Regions from separate parts of the Homo sapiens genome. Here region 2 is linked to region 1. The links are contacts of gene promoters, found by promoter capture Hi-C in human tissues and cell types (Jung and others, 2019). All regions are on one chromosome and are shown on one strand. Each heading gives the region's core, a stretch centred on a gene start or on the middle of the fragment in contact. The rest is flanking DNA. Distances are from core to core; before and after follow the strand shown.

Region 1 (2,802 bases), core at 158-2,657:
GCACTGCGTGGAGTAGAACTGGAAGGGCACCCACGTGCGCCCGTAGTCCATGGACTTGTAGATGGCCATGGACTCGGGCCGCGGCGAGCAGAACTGCAGGCTCACGTAGGTCACTTCGAACTTCTTGCCGAGGGACAGTGTGAGCGTGACGTTGTGCGGGAACTGCAGGTAGTTCTCGGACTGCCAGCACGTCAGGTTGTGCGGGTTGTTGAGGTCGGTGAGGAAGGCGGGCGGGTGCGCCTTCTTGGGGTCGGACGCGTTGCAGAGGTGGCACGAGCGCAGCCGCTCCTCGCCGCGCTCGCTCACCACGCAGTAGCGCGCCGGGGGCCGGCCGCAGGTGCTGGACACGCGCACGTCCTTGCCGAAGGCCGCATTGACAAAGTCCGGGATGCAGCGGCGCGGGTGGCCGTTCTCGTCCGAGCAGGGATCGGGCTGCGCCGCCTGGCCCGCGAACATGCTGAGCCCGGGCCCGCCGCGCACCGCGCCCACCAGGCACGCCACCGCCGCCAGCGCCGCCAGCGCCTCCCACACTGCGCGCATCATGCTGCGTCCAGCTTGCCCCGGCCCTGCCGCGCCGAGGATCTGTCCGCCTGCCGCAGAAGGCGCCTGCGGAGAGAAGGGAGCTGCGCTCAGCCAGCCCGCCCCGCGCCCTCCAGCTCTCGGCGGGGTGGCGAGCGGAGATGCGGGAGAACGCCCGGCTTCCTGGGCACCCACCCCGCAGCCGACTGCCCGCCTCTCTCCCCCAAAGTCCCGCGGGCGGCGAAGCCGGGGCCCTCCAAGTCCGCACCGCTCGCGCCCCTTCTTCCCCGCCCGGCGGGAGAACGCTCTGCTTCCCCGCCACCGCCGCCCCCACGCCGCCCGAGGGGCATGCCTGAGCCGGTCTCCCCGTCCGCGACCAGCCCCCCTCGCACCCCAAGTTTCGGGCGCAGGAGAGCTGGGGGACCCCGACTCTGCACGGCCCGCGCCCCTTCGTCTCGCAGCCCGGGGTCCCTCTCAGATGCCCCCCGATCGCGTCCCCGCCGGAAAGTCCGCGTTCGGGACTTTACCTCTGGAGGGGGCAAAAGAGAAAGAAAAGTTTGCCTGGCCCCTCCGGGGAGCCCGCGCGCCGGTCGCCGGAGAGCCTCTCGCTCGCTGCTAGCAGGCGCGTCCCGCCTCAGCGCGGGCTTGCCAGCTCCATGCCCGGCGCGGCCGCCGCTGCCCCAGCCCCAGCCCCGGTCCCGGCCCCGCCGCCGCCTCTCTCGCCCGAGTGACTACGCGGCCGCCCGGCTCCCGCCGCTCCCGCCGAGCTCGGAGTGCTGCCCTGCCCGCGCCCGGGGCGCACACACACTCACGCTGGCCGGCGCGCACTCACACACACGCGCGCTCGCCCCCGAAGGCTCCGCCGCCGCCGCCACTCGCGCTGGGAGTGAGGGGCGGAGGGGAGCGCGGGGGCGGGGGGCGGGGCCGCCGGGCGGGGCGCCGGCCAATAACGTCCGCGAGCTGCCGCCAGCTCCGAGCAAAGTTTTCACCCCGGGAAAGAAGAAAGTTAAAGGGAACCGGCCCGGACGCCCGAGAGGGAGAGCACAGGCGGGTGGGAACCCGGGAGCCCGAGAAAGAACAGCAGAGACAAAGAGAAAGCGAGGAGAGCACCCGGGGAAACCCCGGAGAGGGGGCTGGGCCGGGCCAGGCGCGCACCCCGTGGGGGAGGAGGGGCCGCCGGGGACTGTCAGCCTCGCCCGCGCCCCGCGCCGCCCGGAGAGCCTCACGCCCGGGGGAGCGCGCGGGCGGGGGAAGGGGGCCACTTTCTCCCTCCCGGTCCCAGCCAAACACATCTGTGTTTGTTTTCTTTGCTGCGCGGAGGTCGGGCCTTCCTCTAACCCAGCCTGATGGCCCCCGGTGGCACCGCGCACAGGGCTGTGCCCCTGTGGGCACGCAGCCCGGGAGCGTGAGGAAGAGGAGGAGGATGTGACCTCTGCCTGCTCTCCATTTTTGCCCGAAGCCCCCGGGGTCCGGCGAGGAGGGGCTGCTCGCCCGCACTCCCACGGATATCACCGTGCGTGAGCCTGTCTGTCGGGAACGCGGCTTCGTTCTAGCCAAGGGAGCAGTGGTGGGCAGGAGGCTGAAGGGGTAGGAAGCTGGCAGCACCTGGACGCTGGCCACCGCCCCTCCAAGACGGGCCTGCCTGGTCTCAGGCATGGGGACAGCCCAGCCCTCCCCAGATCCCCTGAGGCAGGCGTATCGGTACTTCCTCAACCGCATTTTTAAGGGTGCAAAGCCCTGTAATAGCTCATGGGACCTCCACAGCAGCTTTGCTGTTGTATTAACTCCATTTTGCAGATGAGGAAACTGAGGGTCCCGGGAGCTGAAGAAACTCGCACAAGATCAACCCCCAAGTAAACATCAAAAACAGGAAGAGAAGCCTGGGCTCCTTCCACTGCAGGGCATTCGTCAAATGCATAACCTTGCCGAATGATGGTGTCATGGGGCATCTGCGGGGCCACCCAGCCCCTCCTTGCCTCATTCTCCATCGCCCCAATAAAAAGACTGAGGACAGTGACAGCATCCTTTGGTCATCTTGCAACAGCAGCCAGAGAGCTCTGGGAAAGGAATACACTGGGCCGAGAGTTTGGAACGGAATCTCTGCTCGTTTATTTGTTACTTGTAGATGTGTGGTCCAGTAATAGACCCGGATGAAAAGCCCCAGGTCCTGGTTCCGGCCCAAGGGCTGCCTTGCTGCATTAGCTCCATTAAGTGCCTCAGTTTGTCTTATTGGCATTTTCATAAACCCTGAGAATCTAAGAAGGGGCCTCGGGGCTCGTCTGG
Region 2 (2,802 bases), core at 82-2,581, 180 kb before region 1:
TCAACACTTTCAGGCCCAGTCCATAGGTTTCCCAAGAGCTCCCAATGTTCTCTTTCCCTGACTGTGGCTGGATGCAGAGAAACCCACAATGACAGGCCCTAGAAGATGGCAGAGCCATGTGATGAAAGGGGCCTGGGCCCCTGACTCACTGCTTGGAAGGGAGCCACCCATCCAGGGCTGTGATGGACTGTGGTATAAAGTAAGAAATAGCAGGGCCGGGTGCAATGGCTCATGCCTGTAATCCCAGCACTTTGGGAGGCTGAGGTGGGTGGATCATTTGAGGTCAGGACTTCAAGACCAGCCTGGCCAACATGTTGAAACTCCATCTCTACTAAAAATACAAAATTAGCTGGGCGTGGTGGTGGGTGCCTGTAATCCCAGCTACTTGGGAGGCTGAGGCAGGAGAATTGCTTGAACCCAGGAAGCGGAGGTTGCAATGAGCCGAGATTGTGCCACTGCACTCCAGCCTGGGCAACAAGAGCGAAACACTGTCTCAAACAAACAAACAAAAAGAAAGAAAGAAAAAGAAATAGCTGGACTATACTATCTGAGCTGTTTGTTACAGCACATAATCTTCCCTGACCAATACAGGGTTGTGAGAAGTAGAGAAAGAGTTTGAATTAGGACAATAGTGGGTGCAGCCGTGGTGGTATGCCTGTTATCTTGTCCCAAGGGGCCCAAGTCACTGTTCCCCAGCTTCTAACAGGAGCTGGTAGTGGGTACCAGGAATGGAGCTCAATGGTGCCTCCCACACATATGGCCTCCCTCGTAGGTGAAAGCGGTTAGTCCTTTGTCTGTCAGAGCTGTTTTGGAAGTCTCTCTGGGAGGTCTACATGTGATCTTCCCAGCAAAAGGTCAGATACAGTACTTAGGGATCTGTAGGATCCACAGCTGAGCCTGAACTCCTGGGCTGTGATTCTCTCGCTCCAGTTCCCCTTGGTCTCTGGTCTTCTAGAGAAGAGATGTGAGAGATATCAGTAAGACTGTCATTACTGAGACCAGCTGGACACAGGAGGGAGGACATGGGACCTCAGAGAATAACCACCAGGTTTTTCTACAGTGTAGGGCTCTTGGAGAGTGGACAAAACAGAAACCCACAGATGGTCCCCAGATTCCAGTAAAACTTCCCTTCCCACCAAATCACCTACCAAGTATAGCAGAGGTGGCTGGAGCCCCGCCCAGAGCCCCTTGACTGGACCTGTGCACCCAGCTGCACGCAGCTCACACTTGCACCCTTCTCTGAATGTTTGCCCTTGACGGATGGACACTGCTTTCCCTGGAGATATCCGGGAGGTTATAGGTGCCCTTGCCCATGTAACATAGCCAATGGCTGACTGACTTGGGCAGGTATCACTGCCCAGCCCTTTTGCCTGTAAATATGACAACTTCTTGGATATGATTCCCAAGCTCCCGCGTGATCAGGCTGAGGCTAGACTTCCACTGCAGCCTTGTGTTTTCCCAGTTTCTTCCCCTGCACTCTCGTGCTTCCCTCATGCCCTTACTGGTTTCTCCTGAAAGCACCCCCTCAATAAATCACCCACACAAGAATCCCTGTCTCGGGCCCCCTGAGGTTCTGGGGAGAATTAAAGCCAAAGACAGCAGGGCCCCGATAACCTGGGTGGATGGCTGGCATCCCACCCACAGCCATCAACTAGCCTCAAAGAAGAAGAGGGAAGGGTAAGTCCAGGACAATCCCAAAAGGTCACCACCTTCTTGGAGGCTTCTCTGGTGAAGATAGAAGCTACTGTGAAGGTATCTTGGACCATGGGAAGATTTTTAGATGCTGAAGTGCAACTTCCTAATCCTTGGGCTGAAGGAGGTGGCCTCGTAGGACAGAAGGAAGGCTGGTCCAGGAGACTAGGGCAGGGGAAGAGGGAGGCTGGTAGATGCCTAGCCCAGCTTCAGCCTGAAGAAAATCTTGAAGCAGTCTTCTCTAAAACCCATTTCCCCTTCCATGAATTTCTTTTCTTTTTCTTCCTTCTTTTTTTTTTTTTTTGGACAGAGTCTTGCTCTGTCACCCAGGCCGGAGTGCAGTGCTGTGATCTCAGCTCACTGCAACCTCCACCTCCTCTGTTCAAGTGTTTCTCGTGCCTCAGCCTCCCAAGTAGCTGGGACTACAGGTGCCCTCCACCACGCCTGGCTAATTTTTTATATTTTTAGTAGAGACAGGGTTTCGCCATGTTGGCCAGGCTGGTCTCGAACTCCTGACCTCAGATGATCTGCCCACCTTGGCCTCCCAAAGTGCTGGGATTACAGGTGTGAGCCACCACGCCTGGCCCACGTCATGAATTTCTAATCCCTCTTCAGGAGGAGGAAGCTTTGCTAAGCCTCTGTGTCACTCCATAGCTTCCTGCTTGAAAGGATGGTCTACTTGAAGGACCGTGGTAAAGTGGAAATACCGGTTCTGCCATTGACTCACTGCATGACCTAAGACAAGCCACTGTCCTCCTCTGGGCCTCAGTCTCCCCATCTGTCAGATGTGCAGGCCCGATCGGATGACCTATCTCTAGGTTCCTTCTGGTATTGAGAGCCTGAATTTCACTCTCAGGATGCCTTTTGGACAATGCTGTGCTGAGGAATGTCTGACAACTGGCTCTCTGGGGAACTAAAAAAAAAAAATGCTTTGATTTTACCATTTGTCAACTTCCGAAGTGTAAATATTCCCACCATGGCCAATTTCAAACTCCCAGCAGGACACCCTGAATGCAGAATTGGGAAGAGATGCACAGTCGGCCCTCGTGAGCCAGTGGGAGCAGGTGTGAACAGGTGTGAGCCGGCTCCAACACCACCAAGTTTCACATG

What was found. The method cuts DNA at HindIII sites, captures the fragments that hold promoters and counts their contacts. A contact is called where the count stands out against the background at its distance.
Region 2: a contact is called between a fragment that was not itself captured here and the fragment with the promoter of NTN1 in region 1, in 4 of the 25 tissues and cell types used here (heart left ventricle, mesendoderm cells, neural progenitor cells and 1 more).

Annotation. Positions count from the first base shown.
Region 1 is chr17:9,020,115-9,022,916 of GRCh38, reverse strand. It overlaps NTN1 (netrin 1), which reads right to left and starts at 1,407. Exons shown (of 7, transcript NM_004822.3): 1 at 1,332-1,407; 2 at 1-606. The coding sequence starts at 543. RefSeq lists silencers at 1,156-1,945, 1,996-2,045 and an enhancer at 1,466-2,009. The HindIII fragment of the contact is 11,312 bases long and covers 1-2,802 here.
Region 2 is chr17:9,196,853-9,199,654 of GRCh38, reverse strand. All of the region lies in intron 5 of NTN1 (netrin 1), which reads right to left. Among named protein-coding and RNA genes, the nearest start is that of NTN1, 180 kb to the right of the region's middle. The HindIII fragment of the contact is 7,572 bases long and covers 1-2,802 here.